Linked DNA regions of Homo sapiens: all the other regions are linked to region 1. Evidence: promoter capture Hi-C in 16 types of primary human blood cells and fetal thymus (Javierre and others, 2016). All regions are on one chromosome and are shown on one strand. The core of a region is centred on a gene start or on the middle of the fragment in contact, and the rest is flanking DNA. Distances in the headings are between cores, read along the strand shown. Region 1 holds the start of LINC02416 (long intergenic non-protein coding RNA 2416). Region 2 has its middle 58 kb from the start of PCED1B. Region 3 has its middle 39 kb from the start of PCED1B. Region 4 has its middle 24 kb from the start of PCED1B. Region 5 overlaps PCED1B (PC-esterase domain containing 1B).

The links. Contacts are between HindIII fragments. The CHiCAGO score rates a contact against its expected background, and 5 or more counts as called.
Region 2: a contact is called between a fragment that was not itself captured here and the fragment with the promoter of LINC02416 in region 1, in 1 of 17 cell types (activated CD4 T cells). The highest score is 5.5, in activated CD4 T cells.
Region 3: a contact is called between a fragment that was not itself captured here and the fragment with the promoter of LINC02416 in region 1, in 13 of 17 cell types (activated CD4 T cells, naive B cells, non-activated CD4 T cells and 10 more). The highest score is 13.9, in activated CD4 T cells.
Region 4: a contact is called between a fragment that was not itself captured here and the fragment with the promoter of LINC02416 in region 1, in 1 of 17 cell types (activated CD4 T cells). The highest score is 5.7, in activated CD4 T cells.
Region 5: a contact is called between a fragment that was not itself captured here and the fragment with the promoter of LINC02416 in region 1, in 2 of 17 cell types (activated CD4 T cells and non-activated CD4 T cells). The highest score is 6.1, in activated CD4 T cells.

Annotation. Positions count from the first base shown.
Region 1 is chr12:47,351,257-47,357,495 of GRCh38, reverse strand. LINC02416 (long intergenic non-protein coding RNA 2416) reads right to left here and starts at 3,728. Exons shown (of 4, transcript NR_183615.1): 1 at 3,614-3,728. The HindIII fragment of the contact is 14,565 bases long and covers 1,059-6,239 here.
Region 2 is chr12:47,018,086-47,024,324 of GRCh38, reverse strand. No RefSeq gene overlaps it. Among named protein-coding and RNA genes, the nearest start is that of PCED1B, 58 kb to the left of the region's middle. The HindIII fragment of the contact is 3,361 bases long and covers 997-4,357 here.
Region 3 is chr12:47,037,057-47,043,295 of GRCh38, reverse strand. No RefSeq gene overlaps it. Among named protein-coding and RNA genes, the nearest start is that of PCED1B, 39 kb to the left of the region's middle. The HindIII fragment of the contact is 3,555 bases long and covers 1,732-5,286 here.
Region 4 is chr12:47,052,733-47,058,971 of GRCh38, reverse strand. No RefSeq gene overlaps it. Among named protein-coding and RNA genes, the nearest start is that of PCED1B, 24 kb to the left of the region's middle. The HindIII fragment of the contact is 2,907 bases long and covers 1,018-3,924 here.
Region 5 is chr12:47,095,952-47,102,190 of GRCh38, reverse strand. All of the region lies in intron 1 of PCED1B (PC-esterase domain containing 1B), which reads right to left. Among named protein-coding and RNA genes, the nearest start is that of AMIGO2, 19 kb to the right of the region's middle. The HindIII fragment of the contact is 3,452 bases long and covers 2,831-6,239 here.

The DNA.
Region 1 (6,239 bases), core at 2,479-4,978:
ATTATGGGTCTGCTTTCATTCATTATGCTGGGTTTTTGGTAGCCTTTTTTTTTTTTTTTTTTGAGACGGAGTCTCCTTCTGTCTCCCAGGCTGCAGTGCAATGGTGCGATCTCAGCTCACTGCAACCTCTGTCTCCCGGGTTCAAGTGATTCTCCTGACTCAGCCTCGCAAGTAGCTGGGATTACAAGCACCCGCCACCACACCCAGCTAACTTTTTGTATTTTTAATAGAGACTGAGTTTCACCATGTTGGCCAGACAGGTCTGGAACTCCTGACCTCAGGCTATCCGCCCGCCTCGGCCTCCCAAAGTGCTAGGATTATAGGCATGAGCTGCTGCACCTGGCCGGTGGGCCTTTTTAATCTAGAAATTCCTGTCATTCCACTTTGGAAATTTCCTTGAATTTTTCCTTTGACTGTTTCTTCATGTATGTTCTTTTGTTGTTGTTCCCTCTTTCTGTAATTCCTATCATTGAGATGTTAGACCTCTTGGACTGATCATCTAATTTTCTTTTTTACTTTTCTCTGCTGTTTTCCTTCTCTTTGATTTTTTGCTCTACTTTCCTCAATTTACCTTCTAGTCTTTGTATTGAGATTTTTGTTTCAGCTTTCATATTTTTAACTTCCAAAAGCTTCCTTTCATTGTATTAATGTCCCTCCTGGACATTGGGTATCAAATTGCTGATACCCTGATCTGGGTATCAAATTGCTTTTTAAACAGTTCTCAGGCCCACCTACACCCCTCACTTTTGGTTGAACCTGTATTACAGATTTCTGAGCCTTTGGCGGGTTCTATGGTGACAAATTGCTCCTTGCTTTCCCCAGTGCTGACTAGGAATTCAGCTTTCATAGATCTCAGTCATTTATCCTTCCCTAGATGCTTTCCAGTTTCCAAACTGTACATGTTAGAGTGGGGCAGGGGTGTGAGTAAGTCATTACAAATTCCATTTACTGTCATTTAGTCAGGTTTCAGGGGAAGCAGAAGTAAAATCACATGTTAGATCAGCCATCTGTGACCAGAAGCTTCCCCATTCTCACTCGAATGAACTTCTAATCAAGCTTTCATCCCCTCTCTCAAATCTTCTTTTGCCACGGTGACATATGACCTTCCATTGCCCATTCTCTGGTTAATTCTGTCCTTATCTCACTTGACTTCTTACCAGCATTTGACGTAGTTGATCACTTGTTTCTGGAACCCCACACCATCCTCACTGTTTTCTCCATTTGATTCTCTCTCTCTCTCTCTCTCTTCTATTTTTAGAATGTGCTTTTTAAAATTGAGTCATAATTTACATATTGTGAAATGCATAAATTTTAAGTGTGCAGTTCAATCAGTTTTGATAAATGCATACACCCATATCCTGCTCCCCTAACAAGACAGCATTTCTATTCTTTTTCTCTTCTATTGGGGATCCTCCTCTTCTTTTTCCTGACTTTTAAATGCTGCAGTTTCCAAGGGCTCAGTCCTCGGGTCTCTTGGGCTTCTTCTCTTTTCTATCTATACTGTCTCTCAATATCCAGTCCATTGGCTTTAAACACCATCCAGACCTGTGCTGTCCAACACAGTAGCCACTAGCCACATGGCTATTAAGTCTGAATCAAGATGTGGTACACATGTAAAATTCATACTGAAGTTCAAAGACTTATAAAAAAAAGAATGTAAAACAACACAATAATATTTTCATATTGACTATACAATAAAATGAGATTTTGGATGTATTAAGTTGAATAAAACATTACTAAAATTAATGTTACCTATTTTTTCCACTTTTTAACATATAGCTATTAGAAAACATATGTAACTTGCCTCGTATGTCTACTGGTTAGCACTAGTTTAGATATTGATAACTTACAAATTTCTGTCTCCAGCCCCAAACTCTCCTGAACACCAGACTTCATATCCAAATGCCTACTTGATGCAGCCAGAAAAAAGACCAAAATCATGTTCTTTGCAGGAACATGGACACAGCTGGAGGCCATTACCCTAAGCAAATTAACACAGGAACAGAAAGCCAAATACCGCATGTTCTCACTTATAAGTGGGAGCTAAACATTGGATATTCATGGACATAAAGATGGCAATGGTAGACAGTGGGGACTACTAGAGGGAGGAAGGAAGAAGGGGAGCAAGGGTTGAATAACTATTGGGTACTGTGAACAATACCTGGGTGATGGGATCATTTGTACCCCAAACCTCAGCATCACATAATATACCCACGTAACAAACCCAGACATGTATCCCCGAATCTAAAATAAAAGATGAAATTATAAAAAAAAGTTATATTGAAGTGTCAAATATTGATTACAACTATTTTGAAGCACAGAATATATTTATTATTATCATGGTTAATACTGAGTGTCAACTTGATTGGATTGAAGGATGCAAAGCACTGATCCTGCAGGTGTCTGTGAGGGTGTTGCCAAAGAAGATTAACACTTGAGTCAGTGGGTTGGGAAAGGCAGACCCACCCTTAATCTGGGTGGGCACCATCTAATCAGCTGCCAGCATGGCTATAATATAAAGCAGGCAGAAAAAAAAAAAAACAACAAAAAAACATGAAAAGACTAGACTGGCCTAGCCTCCCAGCCTACATCTTTCTCTCATGCTGGACCCTTCCTGCCCTCAAACATCAGACTCCATGTTCTTCAGCTTTGGGACTCAGACTGGCTTTCCTTGCTCCTCAGCCTGCAGATGGCCTATTGTGGGACCTTGTGATTGTGTGAGTTAATACTTACTAAACTATATCTATATCTATATCTATATATCTATATCTATATATATATATATGACTCAAATGTTAATCTCCTTTGGCAACACCCTCACAGACTCACGCAGGATCAGTGCTTTGCATCCTTCAATCCAATCAAGTTGATACTCAGTAATAACCATGATAATAATCGATATATTTTATGCTTCAAAATTGTAATCAATATTTCACGCTTCAATATAACTTTTTTTATAATTTCATCTTTTATTTTAGATTCAGGGATACATGTGTGGGTTTGTTACATGAGTATATTATGTGATGCTGAGGTTTGGGGTACAATTGATATATATATATATATATCATATATATGTATATATCATATATTATCCCATTAGTTCTGTCCCTCTAGAGAACCCTGACTAATACAATTATAAAAACCAACAAATGCCTACTTGACATACCCACTTGATTATATAATAGATATCTCAAACTTAACAGCTCTCAAATGGAATTTCATATTTCCCCCTGCCCCAGACTGACCCACCTCAGTTTTTCCTATTTCAGTAAAAGTCACCACGGTTTTACTCAATTGCTTGGGCCCAAAACTTTGGAATCTTATTGACCACTCCCTTTCTCTCCCTCTCCATGCCCAATCCATCAAAGAATACATGTAGAATTAGCAACTTTTCACCTTTGTCCCTACCAGGCCCAAGTTGTGGATTGCTTTCACCAGGACAATGACCATAGCTTCCTGTATGTATCCTGGCTTCTCCACTTACTTTGTCCTGTCTATTTCTCTGCACAGCAGCCAAATGGATCCTTTTACAAACATTATACCGGTTAAGTCATTCCTGTACTCAAAAAACCCCACAGCAACTTTTAATCACCATAAAATCCACAATCCTTACCAATGTACAAGGCGCTTCTTGATGTGTCCTCCGGCCACCTCTCCAGATAATTTTCTGTCTTTTTTACCTTGTTCAGTGCATGTCGCCTATTCTGATCTGTTCATCGTTGCAGTTTCCTTTTTCTTTTCTTTTCTTGAGACGGAGTCTCACTCTGTCGCACAGGCTGGAGTGCAGTGGCACACTCATGACTCACTGCAGCCTTGACCTCCTGGGGTCAAGTGATCCTTCCACCTCAACCTCCCAAGTAGCTGGAACTACATTCACAGACTACCATGCCCACCTAATTTTTGTATTTTTTATAGAGGCAGGGTTTCACTGTGTTTTGCAGGCTGGTCTCAAACTCCTGAGCTCAAGAGATCTGCCAGCCTTGGCATCTCAAAGTGCTGGGATTACAGGCGTGTGCCACTGTGCCTGGCCATAAGCTACACATTGTTATATTGAGAAGATCCTCTTGAAAACATATGAGTTACAGCTGGCCCTCTGTATATGAGGATTCTGCATCTGCAAATACAACCAACCATAGACCAAAAATGTCTGAAAAAAATTAAAATGACAACAACAACAAAAAAACAAATAAAAAACCAACACAATGCAACAACTATTTACATAGCATTTACATTATATTAGGCATTATAAGTAATCTAGATATGATTTAAAGTATATGGGGGATGTGCATAGGTTGTATGCAAACACTACACCATCTTATATCAGGGATTTGAGTATCTGCAGATTTTGGTACCCACAGGGGGTCCTGGAACCAATCCCCCGTGAATACCAAGGGACAACTTTATATGTAAAAATTAAGGCTGCTGGATGGATACATTTTACCAGCATATATCTTGGTATATGCATTACTGTCAAACCCACTATTCACAAAACTTCTGCTACTTTATTTCTTTAATCCATCTTTGGTGAGGAAAAAAATGTGTGTACCAAGCTGCTGGTAGACGGCACCAGTCTGCATAAGATAATAGCCAAAACCAGAACCCCAAGTCAACATGCATGACTTGTAGAATATCTGAAGTTAATAATGTTCATGTAACCCAAAAAGAGCTAGTGGATTTTAGGACCAATGATAAGGATATTAAAGATCAAAGAGAATGAAATGTCAAAGAGAATGAAATGAAACCAGGTTTCTTAGTATCTGAAGAGATTTCTATTACAATCTCTCTATCCATAATTTGAAGTCTATTATCTTCTCCTTAAAATTGGACATTTGAAATAAATAAAACTGTACAAAAATTAGGGCAAATTACAATAGCCTGATAATTACAACCCCAAACTATATATTACTTTTTAATTTTTTAACAGATTGGCAGCCAGAAAAGAATATTTTCTTTGTATTTATTTTTTAAACAAGTAACTTTGAACTTACTTCACTTCCTTCCTTCCTTCTTTCCCTCCTTCCTTTCTTCCTTCCTTCCTTCCTTCCTTCCCTCTTTCTTTCTTTTCCTTTCCTTTCCCTTCTTTCTTCAAATAGCATCTGGACTGGATCTAAACTAAACTCACAGCACATTTATTTTGAGTGTCTGCTTTGAGGATCAGTGAGACTCAAGTGAAGTCTTCCCCATATGTAGACATGTTACTACTTTGAGTTACTCTCAGTTATACAGTTAATACTCTGAGAGTAACTGTCAATCAACCTAAGCAGTACAATCTGTCAGCAGGCTAGCAGGCTAAGAGCGGTCTGTCAGTTACTTTTTACTAACTTTGTAGTTCTTCATCCATAGTCATCTTTACGATTTCACTGGAAATAATAAAAATACATTCATTCATCCACTCAATAAGAAAACATTTACTGAGCACCTACTTTGTATTAGGTGCCATGAAGGCCTTAGAGATGTGGGATTTGATGGTTAATTGTTTGTGTCAACTTGACTGGATCCGGATGCCAGGTATTTAGCTAAACATTACTTTGGGGTGTGTCTGTGAGGGTGTTTCCAGATGAGATTAGAATTTGAATTCATGGGTTCAATAAAGCAGATTGTCCTCTATGGTTGTTAGATGTTTCAAAGAATCATATTTCTGACTGGTATTGAATCAGATGAGCACAGATGTCCCTTTTCTACTGATATTCTATTTGTCTCTGAGTCAAAGGATAATTACAGAATCCTACATTTTGCTTTGGTTGTGTAGACCGACCCAGACTTTGGATAACAGATGGGAAAACAGACTTTGAAACTAAAAGCCCAAGAATTATTGCGCCTATTTTTATCAGGTGGTTTTGTATAATCCTCAGATTGTAAAAAAATACCCTAAAGAAAGTTGTTTGTAGAATAAAATTTATCACAGTGAGTATTGTCACAGTGAAATATTTTAATAACAAATATATTGCCAAACAAATGATGAGCCACTATTATGAACACAGTCTTAGCCTGGCTTCTGCTCTATAACAGAATACCTGAGACTAGGTAATTTATTAAAAAACAAAAACAAAAATTTATTTCTTATACATGCTGAGCATCCCAAATCTAAAAATCCAAAATCCAAAATGCTCCAAAATCTGAAACTTTTGAACGCTGACAAGAAATACTCACTGGAGCATTTCAAGTTTCAGATTTGAGATGCTCCACCAGTCAGTATAATGCAAACACTAGCAAGATTCTAGAATGGATGACTGAGTGAT
Region 2 (6,239 bases), core at 1,428-3,927, 330 kb after region 1:
ATATGGTTCAACCTAATACATGAGGCTGCAAGTAACAGAAACCCCTACAAACAATAGCTTATATAAATAAAACTTTTTGTCACATTGCAAGGAATCCAAAGGTAAGAAACGTCCTGATACAGCTATTCAATGAACTCAGCGATGCTGTCAGAGACCTATCATCCTGTTGCATCATCCTTAGAAAATTGACTTTTGTCCAGGTGAGATGGCTCACGCCTGTAATCCTGGCACTTTGGGAAGTGCAGGTGGGCAGATCGCCTGAGGTCAGGAGTTCGAGATCAGCCTGGCCAACATGGTGATACCCCGTCTCTATTAAAATTACAAAAATTAGCTGGGCATGGTGGTGCATGCCTGTAGTCCCAGCTACTAGGGAAGCTAAGACATGAGAATCCCTTGAACCGGGGATGTGGTTGCAGTGAGCCGAGATCATGCCACTGTATTCCAGCCTGGGCCACAGGATGAGACTCCGTCTCAAAAAATAAAAGTTGACTTTTGTCCTCAGGCTTGTCATCTTATGGTCACAAATGTCTGCTGTGCCTCCAGGGACTATGTCTTCATTGCAGGCAGAAGAGAAGAGAAAGGCAAAGGCTGTCTTCTGTAAGTTTATCAATGTTAATCAGAAAGACAAAAGTTCTTTTCTATGTTATCTGTGTTAATCAGAAAGACAAGCCCTGGAGGCTCATTCAAAAACTTCTGCTTTCATCTCATTGACCAAAATTTGTCACTTCATTCCCAGACAAAGTTACAAGATTACTAAGATTACTAAGGCTGGTTTAGACCAATCATAATTTATCCCTGGCCCTGGGATGAATCACGATTGGTTTAAACCCATCCATAAATACTCGACAGAGGGAAAGATCTCAGCAGCCACCTGAACGAACTTAAGGTTCCATTGGCTTGGGGAGGGAGGGGTGGATATAGGAAGAACAACAAAGGAGATCTATCACAATGCCCTTGAATTATGAATCCAGGAATCTAGAAACAAAGTAACAAGCTTTCCCATTTCTTGGTTTAGCTATGTAAAAGTAGTTCTATGTGTGTGTGTGTGTGTGTGTGTGTGTGTGTGTGTGTGTGTATCAGTGGTTGTTAAGCATTGTATTTAATTAGCATGCAGCTCAAAAAGTAGTTTGGCAAAATTTATATATTATATGATCACAGCATTAAAATTTATTCTTGAAGTCTCAGTCTTTACACTTTAATCTTTACGTGGCACAGTGGTCTGTTTACAACTTTTAAAAAAGATTGAGAGGGCCTTAAAGTAACATCACTGATCTAGCACGTTGGCCTAATAGATTGTTGGGAGAAGATAATGATATAAGATAAGGTATGTTATAATATAAAAATTTCTGAATAAAGAGCCTAATGCTAGCCATTTTAAGGAAAGCAGAAGGAGTAAATATACTCTTCTGCAGTGGTGATGGCATCATTTAAAAACTCTCACAAGTTATTTACCTACCTTGACATTGCAGGATCATGTTATCCAAGTGATTTGTAGTCTTGCCTCTGGAATAATGGCAGATCAACCAGTATAAAACCCTGGGTAATATACTAGTCTGAGTTAACTGTTTATACTTCGCTTTCCTGTTGATTTACCTATGGCAAATAAGACAATGCATGTCAGTTCTGCTCTTGGCTAGACTTTGTAGAGTAGTAGGTACAATGCATGTTTTCCTGACATGGTTATAAAGTATTTTTTGTCACATTTATAAGCACGGCTTCAAAATTGGACACACTTAGGTTTTATCCAGAAGCTGCCCTTTACTGTCAATGTGGCTTAAAATAAGTTATTCAATGACTCAGCCTGGTTTCTTCCTTTATAAAATGAAACTTTATCAGGTTGTGTGAGGACTAAGTAAGAAAAGTATGTAAAGTATTTAAATCACGTGGCACATACTAAGAACTCAATTAAATGGAGGTGGTTTTTGTTTCTGTTTTCCTGTGTTTGCTTTAAAGAAAATTTTTCTGAAATGATTGCATTAGTGATAACTGCTCCTTTAATAATAATAAATAAAATAGATGTTTAAAAATAATAACAGAATAATAACTGTTATTTCCAAGGGCAAACAAACAATAACTAATTCTTACACTTCTTTTCAATACTATCTGTATATGTTTGGAGAATATGATTTTACTTTTTTGTCCTTCTGTCTTCAACAGCAAAACCATTCAGTCCCTCATTACTTGCCTATGAAAAATGATGTAACGATTAAAGGAATCTCTTGTTTGACTTTGAGATGATTATAAAACAAGGCATTTGAAGGCAATTCTATAACTAAAAGATAAAATCATTATCATTATCTCTCAATCTTTAATATTGGAATAAAGCAATATATAAGATCATGCGATTATGGTTATAATACTACAAAGAATCAACTAAAATGGTGGATATGCTGCCACTCACACTATGCATGATAGGTTTGATCCTTTATAAATACAAAACCACTTTTAGTTTTAAATCCAAGCAACCAGAAAGCTCAAACATACATTTTTGTATACTACACAATGAGAATTAGTATTCAAAGCCTAGACCTATAAGATCCTAAAGTACCATCTGAATAACAAGAGTAAAATTAAATCTAATTTAAATTTAGGGTCAAATGCATTTTATTGTATTCTGGTTCTTGGTATATGGTTAATGCACATATGGTTTGTGCATCATGATACAGCGAGCTAACAAATATATTTAATTGTTCTTGTAATAGCTTCATTTCTTAATTATATTGGCTAAGTAAGAACTTACAAACGATCCTCTACACATCATCAGATGACTCAACATTTGGCCATTGGCTTTATACAACTGTGTCATCCCTGCATTGTATCAAAGAAGGAATCTCACTGGACTTTCCATATGTCACTTAAAGCCTCTTCTACCTCAACAAAGAATGGAAAATATCACAACATCAGCCACTAGATGGCACACTAATAGCAGTGATATTCTAGCATCAGGCTGACAACATTTTTGACATCTATGGAAAGCTAGAACAATAGATTATATGGGTATACATTCTATTACTGAGTGAATATCAGCATAAAAAACTTTACTGTAAATGTGTATTTCTATATAGCAAGTTTTTTTTCCATTGACTTCCGTTATAAAATCAAAGGTGTGTTTCTCTGGGTAATGAAAGATGATGTGGGAGTTGAAGAAAGTTATCACATAGGGAAAGCAACAAGTCTCTTCTATTAACATATTTAAAGGAAAATTCTATTTCAACATTTTAATAAAGGTCTTGAAATGTCAAGAGTTGAATGTTGTGTAGTTAAGATTAATTTCATGTTTTGCACAACATCATGCAAGTCTAGAGAAATAAATGACATTTTAACTGCCCCAAATACCTGGGCTGAAAAATCACCCAGAGGTAATTCCCTTGAGTTTCTCTGAAATGAATCCTAACCCTCACAGAATGCTGATGGGTTTTAGAAATAAATAGTCTGGGCCAAAAGAAAGGAGGAGAACCAGACACAGCAGAGACAGCAATTAAAGGAGAACAGCAAAGGAACAAACACAGCAGCAGATTCTGCAAGCCCATAGAAGCAATTGAAGGAAGGAGAAAGCACATTGATTGAAAAGGGTACTTGGAAGGGGTAAGAGAATGCTGTGAAAAGAGTTCTTAGTGATGCAATGATTCGTTTTTAAAGTTATGAATTTCCACATAAGGAAGATATGCCTGAATAAAAACCAGATTCATTTCGTAATGAAACAAAAATTACTTTGTGGCTACAGTGTCTGTTTTAAACATCATTATTTATCAAATAACTCTTCTTCAAGGTCGGATTCACAGCTGTCTCTCAAATAGAAAACATTCATAATGATAGAGTCATGAGTCTCCTGTTATCTGGCTGTCTTTCCTTACCTAACCGTTCTCATCTGCCACGAAGCTCCAATTCATATTCTAGCCAGGCAAGCCTGCCCACTGCTCTCTGTCTTTGCTTCATCTCCTATACCCTTGTGCTTTGCTGTGGTAAAGATAGCTAATGTCCTTTCCATAGTGTAGCGTTGTTGCTGAGAAGCTCTGCCCAGCCAGGGCCCTCATTTTCCAGTCCTACCCTCCCTTGCATCCAGGTGGGACTAGTTCTTGCCGGTGGAATATGAGCTGAGATGATGTGTACCATGTCTTGGCCAAGTGGTTAAGAAGTGGTGGCACATACCCTGTGCTTTCTCTTTTCCCATCTGCCCACTGGATGTTGACACACAGGATGATCATGGAAGCCACATGTGGAAGGTGATGGAGACTTCCAGCCTACGGCTCTGCGTGAAGCTATGAAGCAGTCTTCCTTCATCCACACAGCCGACCTTCCACTCCTGCCACCAAGCAGGAACATCTGTTTTGGATTTTATGTGAGTGAGAAATAAGCTTCTATTGTGCTACATTATTATTATTATTATTATTATTATTATTATTATTATTATTATTATTTTACTGTAAATAGCCTTACTTTAATTTATTTGCAAAAGCTATTTTCCTACTTGGAATGCCTTTTTAATTATAGGAGAGACACAGACATTTCATTGAGTGCTATTATGAGGTAGGGACATCATAATGGTAACATCTTCACAGTGATTTATACATGGTATCGTTGTCTTATCCTTCCAATCCCAAGAGCTAGTTATTATTATCTTAGTGGTACAGCCTTGATGTATTCTAGTGGGTAATTCTGTTTTAAGTGTAGTTAGTTTCTGAATTTGAACATTTTACATTAGAAGGTCCAGCTGAAGACTTAATTCACTATCAGGAATGGGGTTGAGTATGCCAAAAATTGATAGGGAAAATATGGGAGATAGCCATATGGCAGTCTAAAATATTTAAGTCTGATAGTAGCATAGACACAGGCTTTGGGTTACATAAGGAGATCATAGAGAAAGATTAAATTGATAAACAGGGTAGGCTCCAGATCAAGAGTCATATTGAATGTCAAGCTTAGAAAGTTGAACTTTAGTTCATAAGCTGGGTGTGTGCATGCATGCATGCACATGTGTGCGTGTGTGTGTGATTAAATCTTTTGTGCAGTTAAGTGACATGAACCATTGCTTTAAGATCTGCTTGACAACAATATTATATATAACCAATTTACAAATTAACTTTTAGAAAATGTTTTCCATTATTATTATTAGGTTGGTGCAAAGATAATTGTGGTTTTCGCCATTAGAAGTAATGTACCAAACTAATATTATATTATTGTTGTGATGGAACTGTCTTATGTGCTGTAGGAGTTTTAGCAGCATCCTTGGTCTCTACCAACTGGATGACAGTAGCAACTCCCAATCTTCTCAAATCACGACAACTCAAAATATCTCCAGGCATTGCCAAGTATCCCATAGAGAACAAATCACCCCTGGTTGAGATCCAGTGTTCTAGAGAGACAAACAGTTCACAGAGTGAGACTTGTCTTTGTTTTTATTTGAAGACACACCACTGCCTGATCGTCTTAAATCAGGACAAGAGAAGCCCCTGTCCGTAGATGCTATCCTAACTTCCCCGTCTCCCATTTCTGCCCCCTCCTTTTGTCAGAAGACCCGGGTGCAGGTGGCTACACTTCTCTCCATAATGCAAGGAGTCTTGGGACCACAGAGATGTGGCCACCTACATCCTGTGGCCTCCTTTCTACCATATTCTAAGTATCCATGGCCAGGGAATTTTTTGTCCAGATAGTCTCATTTTCCAAGAGATGGTGCTTGGAGGAGGTAATGGTGGTGGTGGTGTGGCTTGAGTTTGGACATGCCGGCTGAGATATCCTTGTATCTATGCTCACAGTACTGGGCAGAGCCGGTATGGAGGAAAAGTCAGGTGATGGTAGGTTCTTAAAATTCCTGGGTGGATCTTCAAGAAGTCTGAGAATTCTAAATTTGAGTCTGGCCTTCTAGCCTTGGGTTCTTTTGAGAAACTTAGAAGACCAACACCGATGATGGTGGTGTGTAGGAGCACCTTGTGAACAGAGGTGGTCATGCTCAGCTGGACTGGGTGGGGTGCAGAGAAACCTGAGCCAGGTGGGACTTGGGCTTCTGTTTGCCTCTTGCTTCAGTCATAATTTGTGTTGCATAATCCCATGATGGGATAACTTTGTGGGAGGAAGAGCTTAAGCCTCTGAAATCATGAGAGTCTAGGATATAACCTGATTCTGCCTGTAGAATCTGTGTGGTACTGGGTGAGGCCAGGAAGGATTTGGATGCTTTTACTAGGCATAAAAGGAGGAGGACATCCAGAGGGCATGTGAAAAGGCTTGAAGATGTTTGTAGCATG
Region 3 (6,239 bases), core at 2,260-4,759, 310 kb after region 1:
AGGCTGGTCTTGAATTCCTGACCTTGTGATCCACTCACCTCAGCCTCCCAAAGTGCTGGGGTTACAGGCGTGAGCCACCGCACCCCGCTGCACCATTAACATATTAAAGAATGAAAGCTATATAATGAGCTAAGTAGACACATTGTATTAGATAAAATTTAATATCCGTTTATGGTTTAGAAAATCTTAAGCAAACTAATAATGGAAGAAAAATTTCTTAAACGTGTAAATATTATCAAAAAACTACAGCAATATTATACTTAATGGTGAAAAATTTTAAGTTTAATATAAAATAGGTAAAGATGTTTATTATTACTACATTTGTTTAACACTCTACTAAATGGCCTAGATGGTATAGTAATGTGAATAAAAAAGTAAAATAAAAGGAATTAGGAGTTAGAATGAAACAAAACAAACTGGTCATTATTTATGGGTAGTATAATTGTCTACAAAATAAAAAGGAAATTGCATTTTTATACACCAGCAATGATCAGCTAAAAATGTTATTAAAAAGATTATACTATGTAAAACATTCTTACCTCTACGTTTGTTTGCATTTGTCAAAATTCAACAAATTGTGCACTTGTATTTGTCTATTTTACTGTATGTATATTTACCTCAAAAATGAACTGTAAACAAATATTTAAAAAGTAAAAAACTTTAAAAATATTTATACTATTTTAAATTACAATAAAAATAAATATTTTATCCAAGAGAAAAAAAATCTAGTGGGAGATGTGTAAGCCCATATCTGGTAAAAATTATAAAGCTTTATTAAACGACATTAAATAAAACCTAAACAAATGAAGAGATATACCATATTCATGGATAGTCAGATTTAATATTGTATTGACATTAATTTTCATGAATTGATTAACACTCCTAGAATCCCAACATCACAAGTTGATTTTAAAATTTATATAGACTAGCAAAGGACCAAAAATAACCAAGACAGTTCTAAAGAACAAGATGGGAACTTGTATGATCAAATATCAAACTTTATTATAAAGCTATAGTAATTAAGACATTGTATATGGCACAAGGAAAGGTAAATGGAACATCATAGAGAGCTCAGTACTAGACCTACACACACATATATATAGACCATAGTCAATGTTAAGGAGAAAAAAAATCCAAGGAAGAAGGGGGAAGGAAGGGAAAATAGTTGAAAGAAAAATATTTGGCTCAGTATATATACATTTAATCACAGTCAAAATGATTTTTCTTAATATTTATGAAATAGAGGGGCATAACATATGGATAAATCACAGTTCAGTTTTCGTACTGCAGGGTCTCTTTTCTTTCTTTTTTTCTTTCTTTCTTTCTTTCTTTCTTTCTTTTCTTTCTTTCTTTCTTTCTTTCTTTCTTTCTTTCTTTCTTTCTTTCTCTTTCTTTCTTTCTTTCTCTTTCTCTCTCTCTCTCTCTCTCTTTCTTTCTTGACAGGGTCTTGCTCTGTTGCTCAGGCTGGAGTGCAGTGGCACAATCTTGGCTCACTGCAACTTCCACCTCCCAGGTTCAAGTGATTCTCCCACCTCAGCCTCCTGAATAGCTATGATTATAGGCGCACACCATCATGCCTGGCTAATTTTTGTATTTTTTGTAGAGATGGGGTTTCACCATGTTGGCCAGGCTGGTCTTGAACTCCGGACCTCAGGTGATTTGCCCACCTCTGCCTCTCAAAGTACTAGAATTACAGGTGTGAGCCACTGCGCTCAGCTGATTTTCCAAGCTTAAGATTCGTGTATGAATGCAAAGTCATATATCCATGAAGCCAGAGCTGCCAAGGAATATTCTGCGGGTTTCTTTGTAGTTCAAGGTCCTAGTAATGAACAACTATGAGTCATATTGTATTGTTATGAACTTTGTGAATGTGAACTAATATGAAAAAAGTGCTGTCCAGTTTTTTCACAACTATATACACAACTATATACAATATTCTCTGGAATTGAGACAATTAATTCTTTATATTTTCATCTTTTTTGTTAGATCAAATGCACCATTGTAACTCAATATTCAGAAAGTTTCTACTCAAAAACAGTTTCAGGGCATAGTCTACTTCTATGCATTTAGGGGAGTACTTTAAATTTTCTTTCATTACGCTAATAAATTTTCTGTTGTTCGTCATTCTCCTATGGCATTCATTTTCAGAATGGAAAGATTAACAGAATATTTCTCCAAGGCAATACTGACTTTATTTTAGGTTGCTTTATTTTATAGTGTCAAATAAAATAAATAAATCAGTGTAAAAAGTTATATATATATAATGATATATTAATATGAATAATTGATAATGTGTAAGAATTGATTTCCAGAATTGAGTCTGGTTGGGCCACACTCAAAATTGGTCCTTTTACATCTTTTTAAAAATCTTATCCACTTTATGGAAGATATCTTGGAATATATAAATGAATAGAAGTTTCTACAACATTATTTGGAATCTTCCAAAGAATGACTGGTTTCATTCTTATTTAATATTTTAATAAGCATAAGTCAACCACTTCAATAGGTCCTACAAAGTTATAGTTGGAGTTGTACTAGTTATAGATGTGTGGTTGTTAGTCATATTAGATAGTGCTTCTTGGGCCACTTGGGATAAAATCTAATGCAGAGTAAAATTTTCAAAAGGATTATTTCATTCCAAATGAAGAGTTCAGCTCATGTGTAGACTCTATTTAGAAAAACGATTAAATGAATAACTACAATTGCTTTCTTCTTACAGTTACTCTTAAAATGCTGTGAAAGATTTTATCATTGATTTTGCACCAAATGTTTTTGCAAGATTTTCTCACTGGAGTTTTGTACCTGCAGCCACAAGCTAGTGTTTTAGAGAGTTAAATAATGTGTGGGGTAATCTACATTTGTTATTATTAGATGGCCACTATTGCAAGTGGCTTTATTTGATAGCATCATAACTGATTACCTGAAAATGTGAGCCAATAGCTGACCCTTCAAGAAAAAATCAATTTGCAATTTTCACTGTCCACACTTCTGCCAGCTAACAAATCAACTGCAGATCTCTGTTCAGCCCCAAAAGGCACTTAAAATGGGAAATGAAATAGCCTTAAGTTTCCTCCAGGATGATCCCATTTAGCCACCAACAGAGAGGAAGTGGACTAGATGACAGAAGGGCAAAATTTGTTTAAGGGAATAGGGAAAGATTTAATGAAAATCCAAAGACCCACAGGAAAGGGATAAACCTTCCCACTTCAGTGGCTGGCCCCAAAAATCCCAGTTAAAAATAATGGAGCTTTACTGAACGTCACCCAGATTGTTTTAACCCAGTGCTGGTATACCCTCTCAATACTGTCCTGATCTTCCTTCTCCCTGCTCTGTTTTCCTTTCAACCACAGGCTTCTGCTCTTCTGGGTCCAGTTTGTTTTTCACTTTTTGATTGTTTCTGAGGAATTTTAACATCATAGGATTTATTGGCCATTTGAATAGCCTCTTGTGATTTGCTCTGACTCATTGTTCTACTGAATTGTTAATCTTTTCTTATTAATTTGTAGAAGTTATTTATATATTTGAGGTAAGAGACTTTTAACTTTTGTTTGTGTTGTAAATATTTTCTTCCACTCTGCTCTTCCCTTTTCGTTTTTAAAGGTGTCTTTTGGCAAACAGAAGTTAATAATTTCAATGTACGTATGTGGCTTGGTTCCTTTATAGTTAGCGTTTCTTATGTCCTATTTTAATTCTTTTCTTACTCTAAAATCATGAAACTATTCTCCTACTGTATCATCTTAATATTTTTTGCTTTTTTCTTTCATATTTATGCCTAAAAATTTAAAATTAATATCTATTTATTGTGTCAGGCAGGGGTCAAATTTTTTCTTAATATGGATATTCAATTGTCCCAATATTATTTATCAACAAGATCCCTTTCTCCCCACTGGTCTATGATACCACCTTTCTCATAAATCAAGCACCCATGTGTGGTTAAGTCTGTTTTTGGCTCTCTTTCTATTTCATTGGTTAACTTGTCTATCCTTATAATCCTCATCCAATCTCTTAACTTGTGCCAATGTATTACTACCGAAGCATTATAGTCTTGATAATCAGAATCCACTGTTACTCGTGTAAAACATTTCTTAGCTATTGACCCTTGGAATTTCTAGTTAAATGTAGACTCACTTGTCAAGTTTCATTTAAAAAAAAATAATCAAAGGTGTTTACATTGGATATCTAGATCCATCTGGGAAGAATTATCCTTTACAATTTGATTTCTGCAATCCATGAATTAGTCTTTTCTATCAGTTAGAGTATTTAGGTCTTATTTTTTTTATCTTAATAGTGTCTTATAGTTTTTGGCATGGTGGCCTTGCATATCTTTTGCTAGACTTATTTTTAGTTATTTGATATTTTTGAAGCTGTTATAAATAACATCTTTTTGTTTTTTTTATTGCTTGTATAGAAAAATTCAAATAAATTTTTAAATATTGTTTCTAGTAACTTTGCTAAACTCACTTATGAATTCTTTTGATTTGGCTGTAGGTTCTTTTCAACTGTCAGCCTAAAATAATAAAATGTTAAGAATCTAATTTAAGGATAGTTGATTCAAGAGCAACATTTGAAGATAGCCTACCTGGAAACACCAACTGCAGAGGACTAGAGTAAGTATGCCGAAGTAAGGAACTTAAGGTTTCATTTATGTAGGCAGAGACAGGGAGTTTTTAGGAGGATTACAACATTTTTCCATATAAGGTTGGTGCATAGTTACAGCAATTTGATTGGTTATAGGCTGTGTTTATTCTGGGAAGGGTACATTTAACTTTTTTTTTTCTTTCTTTCTTTTTTTTTTTTCCAGAGGGAGTAATAGTCATGAGTTTTCTGTCATCTTATCTAGCAAATCAAGACAAAAATGGGGAAGTTAATCTATAACAAGGGTCATTAATGAAGAAGGCAGGAGGTTTTGTCTTTGGCATTGTTTAATTCTCTCTAGTCATTGCACAGAACAAGAAAAACAAGAAAGCAGGTTAATCTATAATCTGAGAATAGAGGTTGTAACTACATGTGATTCAGATCACAGTCACATATCTCTCAAAGCCTAAAATATTTTCAGGGTTCCAAGAGCTTTTAAATTTTATTTATTTTCACACAGTTTTCCACAGATATAATCATATTTGTGAATAATGATGTTTTATTTCTTTATTTCCAATAACTTTGTCATTTATTTATTTTTCTTTCATACTGCACTGGCCAGGGCCTTCGGTGTCCTTCAATTTTGCACATTGAATAAAAGTAGTAATAAAAGACAATGCTTGTCTTGTTATAAATCCTAAAAAGAAAGCTTTCAACATTTTACTATTAAGCATGATATTCATCAAAGGTTCTTTTGTAAATATCCTTAATTAGGTTAAGAAAATTCCCTTATAGTTCGAGTTTGCTAAGAGTGTTTGTTTTTTCAAATCATGCTTGGGTATTGAATTTTACTAATTTTTTTTGTGCAACTATTGAAGTGACATGTAATTATTCTCTTTCATTCTTTGACTGATTTTTTCACATAAGACCAAAATACAAAATTGCATTCTTGGAGTAAACCCAGTGTGGTCATGAATTTTTTTTTTCACTACATATTACTGGATTCTATCTGCATCACTAGAGTATAAGTTTCATGAAGGCAGAGTTTTCTGTCTGTTTTGTTGTTGTCATTGTGTGTTTTACTGCCCTGTCTCTATGGCATATTTATTGGATGAATGAATAAAGAAATCAACAAATTTCCCCAGGATTGTGACAGCCTCTATTCTGGCTGTGAATAGAGAGCCCTGAGCTTCTGGCTACCTGTTATGGGGCCATTTCTCTTGGCTGCACAGAGCTCCAATCTCCTCAGGATGGGGTACTATATTCACCCCACTTTCTGGACAGCATATATCCAAACAACTCAGGAATCAAGCCTTGCCTCTCTTGGTTCCTCACAAACACAGCTTTGCCTCTCTGCCTGTTCCCCATCCTGTTCATGTGTTGAGACCCCCTAAATTTGTATATCCAAGATTTAGCAGAGCAATGACCACTCACTTACTAGTCGTTAGTGCAACTCACACAATTGGCACAGATGCCTAGGGGCCTGAAAATAAGACTTGGAATTCCATACTCTGGCAAAAACTCTAATTTGTTTGGTGGCACTCACGCCTAAACCTGGTCTCTGAATGGGCTACAAGAACGGAGGCATAAGTCTTTTATCAGGAATCATGAAATAGGGAGAACCAAGACTCCAGCACATAGACATCACCAGATAATAAATAGAC
Region 4 (6,239 bases), core at 1,222-3,721, 300 kb after region 1:
CATGTGAGATGGGTTTCCTGAATACAGCACACTGATGGGTCTTGACTCTTTATCGAATTTGCCAGTCTGTGTCTTTTAATTGGAGCATTTAGCCCATTTACATTTAAAGTTAATATTGTTATGTGTGAATTTGATCCTGTCATTATGATGTTAGCTGGTGATTTTGCTCATTAGTTGATGCAGTTTCTTCCTAGCCTTGATCATCTTTACAATTTGGCATGTTTTTGCAGTGACTGGTACCGGTTGTTCCTTTCCATGTTTAGTGCTTCCTTCAGGAGCTCTTTTAGGGCAGGCCTGGTGGTGACAAAATCTCTCAGCATTTGCTTGTCTGTAAAGTATTTTATTTCTCCTTCACTTATGAAGCTTAGTTTGGCTGGATATGAAATTCTGGATTGAAAATTCTTTTCTTTAAGCATGTTGAATATTGGCCCCCACTCTCTTCTGGTTTGTAGAGTTTCTGCCGAGAGATCAGCTGTTAGTCTGATGGGCTTCCCTTTGTGGGTAACCTGACCTTTCTCTCTGGCTGCCCTTAACATTTTTTCCTTCATTTCAACTTTGGTGAATCTGACAATTATGTGTCTTGGAGTTGCTCTTCTCAAGGAGTACCTTTGTGGCGTTCTCTGTATTTCCTGAATGTGAATGTTGGCCTGCCTTGCTAGATTGGGGAAGTTCTCCTGGATAATATCCTGCAGAGTGTTTTCCAACTTGGTTGCATTCTCCCCGTCATTTTCAGGTACACCAATCAGACATAGATTTGGTCTTTTCACATAGTCCCATATTTCTTGGAGGCTTTGTTCATTTCTTTTTATTCTTTCTTCTCTAAACTTCTCATTTAATTTCATTCATTTCATCTTCCATCACTGATACCCTTTCTTCCAGTTGATTGCATCGGCTACTGAGGCTCCTGCTTTCATCACGTAGCTCTCGTACCTTGGTTTTCAGGTCCATCAGGTCCTTTAAGGACTTCTCTGCATTGGTTATTCTAGTTATCCATTCATCTAATTTTTTTTCAAAGCTTTTAACTTCTTTGCCATTGGTTCCAATTTCCTCCTGTAGTTCAGTGTAGTTTGATCGTCTGAAGCCTTCTTCTCTCAATTCGTCAAAGTCATTCTCCGTCCAGCTTTATTCCGTTGCTGGTGAGGAGCTGCGTTGCTTTGGAGGAGGAGAGGTGCTCTGATTTTTAGAGTTTCCAGTTTTTCTGCTCTGTTTTTTTCCCATCTTTGTGGTTTTATCTACCTTTGGTCTTTGATGATGGTGAAGTACAGATGGGTTTTTGGTGTGGATGACCTTTCTGTTTGTTAGTTTTCCTTCTAACAGACAGGACCCTCAGCTGCAGGTCTGTTGGAGTTTGCTAGAGGTCCACTCCAGACCCTGTTTGCCTGGGTATCAGCAGCGGTGGCTGCAGAACAACGGATATTGGTGAACCGCAAATGCTGCTGCCTGATCGTTCCTCTGGAAGTTTTGTCTCAGAGGAGTACCTGGCTGTGTGAGGTGTCAGTCCGCCCCTACTGGGGGGTGCCTCCCTGTTAGGCTACTCTGGGGTCAGGGACCCACTTGAGGAGGCAGTCTGCCTGTTCTCAGATCTGAAGCTGCGTGCTGGGAGAACCAATACTCTCTTCAAAGCTGTCAGAGAGGGACATTTAAGTCTGCAGAGTTTACTGCAGTCTTTTCATTTGTCTGTGCCCTGCCCCCAGAGGTGGAGCCTACAGAGGCAGGCAGGCCTCCTTGAGCTGTGGTGGGCTCCACCCAGTTCGAGCTTCCCGGCCGCTTTGTTTACCTAATCAAACAACTAACTCGGCAATGGCGGGCGCCCCTCCTCCAGCCTTGCTGCCACCTTGCAGTTTGATCTTGGACTGCTGTGCTAGCAATGAGAGAGACTCCGTGGGCGTGGGACCCTCTGAGCCAGGTGCGGGATATAATCTCCTGGTGTGCCGTTTTTTAAGCCCGTTGGAAAAGCGTATTATTAGGGTGGGAGTGACCCAATTTTCCAGGTGCTGTCTGTCAGCCCTTTCTTTGACTAGGAAAGGGAATTCCCTGACCCCTTGCGCTTCCTGGGTGAGGTGATGCCTCGCCCTGCTTTGGCTCATGCACAGTGTGCTGCACCCACTCTCCTGCACCTACTGTGTGGCACTTCCCAGTGAGATGAACCTGGTACCTCAGTTGGAAATGCAGAAATCACTGGTCTTCTGTGTCGCTCACGCTGCGAGCTGTAGACCGGAGCTGTTCCTATTCGGCCATCTTGGCTCCTCCCCCTCTTAGTTATTTTCACATCAAGACATTCAAATTGTAGCTCTTAAATTTATATCTCTCTGGCCCCTCAGGTCCCTCCCAACAGCTCTCCTGTATTCTTCTGACATTGCTCTGACATAGAGTGTCTTTTGAGACCCTGAATATGACCTGCCACCTAATAAACATTCATTTCCTATTTAACGTTCTTAAGCTGTGTTAGTTTTAAGTAGGGAAATTAGATGCAGAACTAAATTTTGTCTTGCATAAAGCACTTGTAGTGGTGCAACTCTTCAGTATTGCATTCAAAATTCTCCTTGCAGCTTCGGGCAACATTTCCAGTGTTATGTCCCATAATTCTTCCATCTAAGCAACCCATTCTAATCTAGCCTACTCAGATTCCTTAAAGAAAATGTAGCAGGATTGTTAAGGAATCAGAGAGATTGATGGGGTTCAGGAGGATATGTATTAATTATTTAGGTGCACTGGCCCAGTCGGATTAACATCCAAAGGACTAAGCCCTGAACAAAGAGTTAGTTTACTTTTTAAGCATTTTGTGGGGCGGGGGTGTGTGTGGGGGGGTGGAGATCTGTGCAGGGGGAAGCATACTACAGAAGTGAGAAACAATGGCAGTTATTCAATTGAGACAGTCATTACATCATTTCTTACTTTTCAAGGAAAAACATGTTTTGCAACTTGAGTTTATCTGTCTAGTGACCTCGCAGCTGCACAGCTAGAGAAACAGGGTCTTCACAATGCCTGGGAAGGGAGGAGAGATAAGGCTCACTAGCCACAGAAAAATAGGCAGTATAGTTTTTAAAGGACTTCATCTTTTTCTCTTTCTCAGGGGGAACTGGGTTTTCTTACATACAACTGAGTTTCTGCTTACACACTCTTTAATTTCTTTGAATTCCTGTTCCAAATCCTTAAAGAATGTACTCCCTAGCATTTTCCATTGACTGATAGTTTATTAATCCTAAAAGACCTGACAGAAATTTGACTTCCATGAAGCCATTTTTGACCTCATTCACGTATTCACATGTTAAAGTAACATTTTCCAAATATCTACTGGTTCTGATTTCAACCCTCCTTAAAGGATCCGTTTGAAGCAAGGAAGGGACATTCGATTTGCATTTGAAACAGACCCCTCTGTTGCTAATTTTGAAATGGGCGGGGGACAGAAATGAAAGCAGGAAAACCAGGTTCAAGAGAAGGCAGGATTTTGGAGATATTGAAGAGGCACAGCTTTTAGGACTTCATAATTGATTGAAATGAGACAAATCATTTCAGAATCACATAAGTGCACTAATAAAGTATGCACAAGGTGCTGTAGGAGAACAAAGAAGGGTGGTGGTGCTGAATGTCTAGGGAAGACTTCCTAAGGATATAGTATCCCAGGGTAAGCCCTGAAGAAACAGTTTGTAAAGTGAAGTGGCATGGGAAGATGGGGATATCAGTCCAGTCTGAGAGAATAGTATGGTTAAAGGCTAAGAAACTGGAGAGAATGAAGTGCATTCAGGAAATTGAAAATAGTTTGCTTTTGCCAGACCACAGTTGAAGATGGGTAGAGGCAGGGGCTGTGCAGAGGGGAAGCCTGGAAAGCAGGCAGATCTCAGTATGAAATGTGCCATGCCCATCATTTCCACCTTGTTCTGAAAGCTATGTGGTTGGCCTGTGAAGGGTTTGTTAAATTAAGCTTCATCTAAAGCTCCCTCCTTGCGTATTTTAACTTCAGCCTAAAGGTTTCTCCTACCTAGTGAGCTGTAACCTAACCGAATGTGTAAACAGGCTGTAACCTACAATTGTGCCAATCTCCAAGTTTTGGCTAATCAAATGTGGCCAACTCTTCAAATTATATTCAAATAAGGGAAATGCCAAGCTGTAACCAATCCAGCCATTTCCGTACCTCACTTCTGTTTCTGTACAGCACTTTCCTTTTTCTTTTTCTATCACAAGGCAGTGCTGGAGACTCTTTCAGCCTATTCCGTTTCAGGAGGCTATTTGATTTGTGAATTATTCTTTGCTCAATTAGACTCTATTAAATTAAATTTGTCTAATTTTTCTTTGAACAGATTTTAGCAGCTGGAGTGGTATGAGTAGATTTGTAATTTAATAAGAGCTTTCTGACTGCAGTAAAGAGGAAGAGGCAGACGAGTTAGGGCATTATAAGACTAATTGGGAAGAAATTATGCAGGCCTAATTGAGAAGTAGTGATGGAGATGGAGAGGGGGATATATTTGAGAGTTATTTAGACCCTAGGATTGATCAGATCGGTGAGTAGATTAGATGGAGGAGGGTAGAAGAGAGCATGGAGGCTGACTTTATAACTTATGGCTTAGGTGGTGCAGAAAAGGATGCAATTCTCTAAGATGTTTGAAGGAGAAGAAAGTTTGTTTTGTTTTGTTTTGGTCATGTTGAGTTTAAGCAGCCTGTAGGGCATCAAAGAAGAAAGATTAGTACAAAGATGGATGAAGATGCCTGGAGCTCAGAAGATACAGCTGAGCCAGAGATTTAGATTCTGGCCATAAGCATTTAGTTAGGAATTCAAGACATGGGAGTGTATGAAATAAATCAGAGAATATGTGGCAAGAGAACAGAAGAGGATGGAACAGTGGAGACAGCAATGTTTAAGCAGTTGGAAGAGCAGGAGCCAGAAAAGGAGGGACCAAAGAGATGAGAGCAAATCCAGAGGAGAAGATAGTATCACTAAAGCCAAATGAAGAGAAGGAGAGACAGTGTCCAGTAGGGCCAGATACTTCAGAGATCAAGAGAGAGAAAGCCTAGAAATGTCCACTAGATCTAGGAACAGATTACCTTGGCATAAATCGTTAAGTGGAGGAGGGAGACAAATGGCAGTGGGGAGCTGAGGAATGCATGAAAAATAAGAAACTGCAGGCTTCCCTTTCAAGAAGTTTGGATGGGAAGATGGTAAACAAAAAATAGAGCCTTGACTATGCAGAAGGATGCAGAATAAAGACAGAGCTGTGAAGTTCAAGTTTGGGCATATCTAAAGGCCAGGGTGGAGAAACCAGTAGAGGACAGAATGAAGATCTAGCTGAGACAGGGCACAAAGAGTGGAGCAAAGGCGTGACACAGCAGGAAGGAAGGCAGTGAGTACATGGGAAGGGAGGAGGAACAGCTCTTTTTTTTTCAGAGGAGAGGAATGGAGAAGAGGATTGGTGTGGACACAAACAAGATTTGGAGGACTGTGTAGGGAGTGAGAGAACTCTTTGCCTGAAGATCACATCTTCTTTGTGAAATAGAGAAGGTCGTTTAATGAGAGTTAAGGGGAAGTGATAGATTAGCCCAAGAATAAGTGAGCTCATGGCCATTGAGAATAAGATGGATGGGAAGGAATTGAGGGCAGGAAAGGTCTAACAGAAAAGTAGATAGGAGAACCACATGAGGGTGAAGAATAGATGTGATTGGGAAGCTCTAGGGGACGACAAGCTCTAGGGCTGTGACTAAATGGCAGCAGAGGAAATGAAGGTACAAATGTTAATGAGGTTAAGAGGAATGGCTAAGGTTTTGGAAAGGTCATTGATGTGGACACAGAAGTCACCTAGGATGATGGCAGGACCTGAGATGACAAGAATCTATGAGTCAGGAAAAGCAATGCTAGCTACTATAACAAGACAAACTTACCATAATATGACTTATCATAATAAAACTCCATTTCTCACTCATGTCACAATCCAATTTGAGCCAGGCAGCTCTCCTGGCAGTTGTCCTTCAAGAAAAGACTCAGAGATTGGGGCTCCTGTGAATGACTCTGCCATCTTGGAGTTATTACTTTCTAACTAAGATAACTCTGATACAAAACATAGAAAATATAGCACAAAAAAAGGAAATATCATCTCACTTAGGAATATGGATGCAAACATTTAAATAAAATGCCACCAGTAATAAAAGAAAAATGTAGTATTACTCAGTTGAGTTTATTTTAGAGAGAACGAAAAAGGTTATGTCTATGTGGCTGAACTAGATGGAATGGAAACATTTGCTTTGCTCAA
Region 5 (6,239 bases), core at 3,307-5,806, 260 kb after region 1:
GTATTTAAAAGCTAATGATGTTAAGATATAATTTTGGTAGGCCATGTGTTTTAATGAACAGGTAGTTGATGAGTCTATAACATGGATGTATTAAAAGGATAATTTGGTAAAAGCAATTTAGTTTCTTGGGAACTACTTGGGAGTCAATAGATAGAAGCTATTGTTTAGGACAAATGATTTCTCTGAGTTCTCTCTTAGAAATAATGCATAATAAATTCAAATCTTCCCCCTCCTTTTTTTTTTTGAGATGGAGTTTTGCTCTTGTTGCCCAGGCTGGAGTGCAATGGTGCCATCTCGGCTCACTGCAACCTCCGCCTCCTGGGTTCAAATGACACTCCTGCCTCAGCTTCCCCGGTAGCTGGGATTACAGGCATGCACCACCACGCCCAGCTAATTTTGTATTTTTAGTTGAGAAGGGGTTTCTCCCTGTTAATCAGGCTGGCCTCGAGCTCCCAATCTCAACTGATCCGGCCGTCTCAGCCTCCCAAAGTGCTGGGATTACAGGTGTGAGCCACCGTGCCCGGACCAAATCTTCCTTTTAATTCAGTTTTTTCCCTGTGATCCATATTATAGTTTTCCCCATATAATCTCCATATAGTCAGAATGGGAAAGGGGGCTCATGATGATAATTGCATGTAATGTAGAATGGCTACTGAACAGTGGATTGTTAAGTGCATAAAAATTGGGGAGACTTTGTGTTACAAGTTTTGGGGCAAGAGATAAACAATAGGAAAAGGCTCAGTCATTGAGTCTTAGAAAGAGATTTCAGGCACTGAAGGAAATTCATTTTACTGAAAAAGAAACGAACGAACAAGAAAGCCCAGTAAGTGACAGCTTCACTCACTGGTGGTATCACAGTGACTAACATTTAGTTCTCTTGACTCCTGGACCAGTGCTCTTGCCCACTCCCCAGCCCCACCTCAAACCATAGGTTGGTTCCAAGTAAATATGTCTTCTCCTTGAAACCATCTGGTATAGATAATAATAATAAAAGATGTGCCTAACAAGTAATTATATTACAATATCAAGTATCCTAGGTGATATATTTAAGATGGAATGGAATAAACTAGATTCTTCATATTTGAAACAAGATGATCAAATAACTTTTTTTTTTCTTTTTTTGAGATGGACCTCACTCTGTCGCCCAGGCTGGAGTGCAGAGGCACGATCTCGGCTCACTGCAACCTCCACCTCCCGGGTTCAAGTGATTCTCCTGCCTCGACCTCCTGAGTAGCTGGGACTATAAGGCATGCATCACCATGCCCGGCTAATTTTTTTTATTTTTAATAGACACAGTGTTTCACCATACTGGCCAGGCTGGTCTCGAACTCCTGATCTCAGATGATCTGCCCCCCTCGGCCTCCTAAAGTGCTGGGATGACAACCATAAGCCACCATGCCTGGCCAATCAAATAACTTTTAGTCAACTCTTAAAGGCTAAGTGAAGAAGACATAGACTTATTACCACAATCCAGTCTGTTTGGTCTTTCTTAAGGCCAGAAAGTGTGAAAATATTTCTTTTCTATTCTCCTTTTTCTAGACTTTATATTTACCTCCTGTATGGAAGACATCAGATTTCAGATACTTAAGAGTACACTTGATTTGAGTTTCTGACTCAATATTTTGAATGGAAATCTGAACCAAAACAAAGTTAATGATAGCTTTACTGTATTACCTGTAAAACAAACAAAATAAGTGAAAGGGAGAAGAAGTGCTTTAAATGCAAGAATTCCTAATATCTTTTTTAGTATAAAGATAAGCACATATAAGGAAAAAGAAGACAAGAATATTCATTGATGGATGGATGGATGATTCAGTTGGTTTCTACATTAGCAATGACTCATGCTGTAAAATTGGAATGTTTAGAAAATAAATCCTACAATTGTACCAGAAAAGACAAGAACATAATATGATAGAGATCCAAGCATGCCAAAAACATCATTTTCTTTTCTTTCCATATATGACTTTTGAGTGTTCTGAATACTACCCTTGCGTTTAATGATATAGAAAAAGGAAATAAAACGGTAATCACAGTCTGTCAGAAACTGTGTTCCTTTCTGAATGAAAATACATTCTTCTAAAACAGTATTTATGAATAGTTCTAGATTCAAGAATTTCTATTAATATTTCCACATTGGTCTTAAATAGAATCTGTGAGAATGGTCCTTTTTCCAAGTATGTAAACATTGCTCAGTGTAGCCGCTTGGAGTCACTGAGTTTATACACCTGTACCTGCATTGATGCAAATGTGCTCTCTGCCTTGTGTCTTCATTGGAAAGTCAGCTTTATGACTGGCATGGAATGGATTGGAGCCTGAGAAACTGTGGGCTGATGCTGGAGGTGCCCAGATGGAATGGGAGGCAGGGCTGAACTAGAAAGTCCTTTTCAATTGCTAATAGTGGCTTCTTTAAGCAACACTTTATGAATATGACTGGGCCACCTCTCAGTCTTTTTTTCCTGGACTAAGGAAAAGCTAATAGTAATTTCCTGTTTTCCTCATGCTCTTCAGTTTTAGGAGATCTCACAGAAGTACAAGGGCGCATGGTAGTGCAGAGGGAGTGGCAAAAGGGAAAAGGAAGGTTTTTGAGGGGGTCTTATCTGAATATTAGGCCCAGAAGTTCTCAAACTATTCATTCTGAGAGAGGGAGAAGGAATATCCATTAAAATTATATGTAGAACATGTATTCATTCAAATGGATGTTGTCACTGCTAGTGTGAGAGCAGTGAGTATAAAACCACAGTGGAGACGATCCCCGCTTTCAAGGCATTTACAATGGACAGAAGAGCTTATGTAGTATGTGGTGTGCGGAGTGTGGCAGGAAGGAAAAGCTTTATGTGTGATGGTAAGTAGCCCTCAAAAAGGGGATAGTAAGTGATCTGCTACTGAGGTAATAGCCGGTGTTCCGGTGCTCCTCCTGAAATAGATTACAACTGATGCCCAAAATGGTATGTGAATTGTTATCCCTTACTGTCTCATGTGGCCTTCTCACTGCTGTGCTCTTCTAAAATGTTACTGGAAAAGTCAGCAAACTCAGTATTTGACAGTGTGAAAGTTTTTCAGATCCCATTCTTTCTTGATAGGAGCGAGAAGGGCCAAACTGAAGCACCTGGTTCGCAGGGGAGAAGGGGACGGGGAAGTCCATTGGTCAGAGATGAGTGGTGGCTGGGAATCGAATCTCACTCAAATTAACTCAAATTAAAAACAGGAGTTAACTGTAAAGATTAAGCCAACAATTTTGCACACATCCACCAGCAGGAAACAAAGTCCAGCTAGACTTCATAGCCACCAAAGCTGGGAAAGAGAGAGACTGAAACTCAAGTTGATTGGTCTGTAGTCTCCCACTCTTTCTTTCTCTCTTTTGTTTTTTGACTCTCTCTTTTGAGTCTCTTTGCTTTTAAAAAAATATTATGGCCAGGCGCGGTGGCTCACGCCTGTAATCCCAGCACTTTGGGAGGCGGAGGCGGGCGGATCACGAGGTCAGGAGATCAAGACCATCCTGGCTTACACAATGAAACCCCATCTCTACTAAAAATAGAAAAAATTAGCCGGGCGTGGTGGCGGGCGCCTGTAGTCCCAGCTACTCGGGATGCTGAGGCAGGAGAATGGGGTGAACCCGGAAGGCGGAGCTTGCAGTGAGCCCAGATTGTGCCACTGCACTCCAGCCTGGGCGACAGACTCCATCTCAAAACATAAATAAAATAAATAAATTAATAAATAATATTGTTATTAATTCCCTGTGAGTGTTGCATACTCTTTGCTTTTTAAAAGCATGTCTGATTTCCTTTGTTCATAGACTTTGGCTTTGTCTATTTATAATCTTGCTCTTAAGTAGCTTTAGTTGTCCTTGACTTTGGCTTGCACTGGCACCAACCTCAGCCCTCGCTGGTTGGGAGCTCTCAGCTGCAGTCCATAGTCACTGACCGTAGTTTCTGTAACCCGGCTCAGAATCGTAAGAGAGAGTCTGATTGTTGTGGTCCACGAGTCTACCCCTGGTCTCATTGGAGTGGGGCAAGGCAGACATGGAGTGGGGATAGGGCCACTTAAGCCTGTCCTTTCCAGCAGCGACTGTGAATAGCAGGAATTCTCTGAGATGGGAGCTGGGGAGGCAGCATAAATGCCCCAAAGCATGTCAACTACTACCCAAAAGCAAATGCCTCCTTTTCACAGACTGGCATGTGGCTAGCCTTACTTGGAAATGGTAAGACCTTATTTGCTATGGCATAAAACCAAGAATAGTCTTTGGAGCATGGATAACAATTTGGAGCATGGGTAACAATTTGGTTTCTGGTTCTTCTTCTACAAATTGCACAGAAAATAAACTGCTGCTGTAATGGTGGCACGGCCATCACAGGGAATCTTTGGGTGAACTGAGGAGACAGTGCTGGGGACTAAGGTACTTTTCATTCATTCATCCGAAAACTGTAGCAAGCACCTACTCCGTGCCTTGTGCTAGAAGAGCAGAAGAGTCGTATAGCCTCCAAAAGTGTACTGTGCCAACTGCTCTTTGCAGTTTGTGTTTGTCGGCTCTTCACTGAACCACAGTTTAGATTTCACCACTGAGAAGTTCCCAAAATACTCTTGGAATCCATTGTACATAAAAATTTCTAAAAGCAGAGTATTAACAAATTTAGATACACAAACAATGATAATTTCTGGCTCTGAAAACTAAGTTCAGTCCAGTGCCTGCAAACAAAAACTAAGCAGAAGGACTAAAATAAACAAAATATTATCAGCCCTGCCTTCCCTTCTTCCCTTAGGCGTGGCTTTAATGTGGGCTTCCAGTCATGAGGAAACTCCCTATGTTTGCTCTAGGGAGATGTTTATGTGTGTTTTGATTCTTTAAACTCTAGGGATAAAGAGCTGTAAGAAAAAGGAAGAGGGTGCTCGTTTAAGAAGTTGTAATTAAATGTGTGTTTTGAGGGATGTATTTTCTACAGGTACATTTATCTTTATAGACATATGAGTTATTTTAGGTATTTCTGGTTGATACAGATAGAAGATCAAATTAGGCCTCAGGAGACTTCAGTTCAAGTCCTGACTCTGCCAATATAAATGTAAATGTGGGTAAATCCCTTGCTCTCCATGATCCTCTTCTTCTTTGCTTTTTTGCCTAATTTATCAAGTTATTAAGGGAATCAACTGAGGGGCTAAATGTTAGGGCTTTTTGAAAATTGCAAAATATCATTTAGTAAGTGTTTGAATTCGACTGGGTATATTTAGTACTTAATTTAAAAAATCAATATTGCTGCCTGATCTTGCTACTAAAGCAATCTTATACAGTCTTACATATCTACTTTTGGTAATTATTTAATCAAATTCCATCTCAAATATATTTTAAACCAGCAGAGTTAACTTACATAGTGGCACTATTCCAAGTTTGTTTTCTAATATATGTAATAGAAGCTCATTAAAGCACTCATTAAAAATGCAAACACATCTCCAAAGCAGATAATTATTAAACAAAGCAAGTAATATCTGTAATATCCTTTTAACGAAAAGTCTACTTTTAAATATTGGTTTCTCTTAAAGCAATGGATAGATTTTGCAAGTGAATCCAATCCACAGACTTGCTAAGCCCAGATTATGTTTATGAAAGGTATTGTGTTAGGTGCTGTAGAGTGACAAGATACAAGAAAACTGCCTCTGCCCTCAATGTGCTTAAGAGGACAGGATACAGGGGAAGCTAAATATAGGTGAATTAATTTATGTGAACAGCTGTACACATTACATTACTATTATATCTATCCATATATAATATATAATATATAATGTGTATTATATATAAAGAAGATAAATAATCCTTTAGTCCTAAAATAAAGCTGCATCAGTTTTAAAGATGAACAATTATTGAAATCAAAGTTTATCTAATTAGCTCAAATAACATTTATATTATCAGAGCATGTTTAGCTAATGTGTAATATAAGATACAGATAATCTCTAAATAGCAATGACACTAAAATATTCCTAAAAAATCTAAAAGTATGATTAACTATGGGATATGATACTGTACAGAAATGGGTTTTCCATGGGGCTGGAACACTGAAGCACAGACGTAGTGCTCAGGAATGCTTAGACAATGACTCTCCTCGCTCTTCTCCCCGAGATGAGGATGTGGTCTTCTGATATAAAACTTGGTTCAGAAACAAGGAGACCTCAATTATTGTAAGCATTTTCTTAAACTGAGTCATTAAATATAGAGAGTGTTTACATAAATGCTTCTCTGGCTAGGAATGTAAACA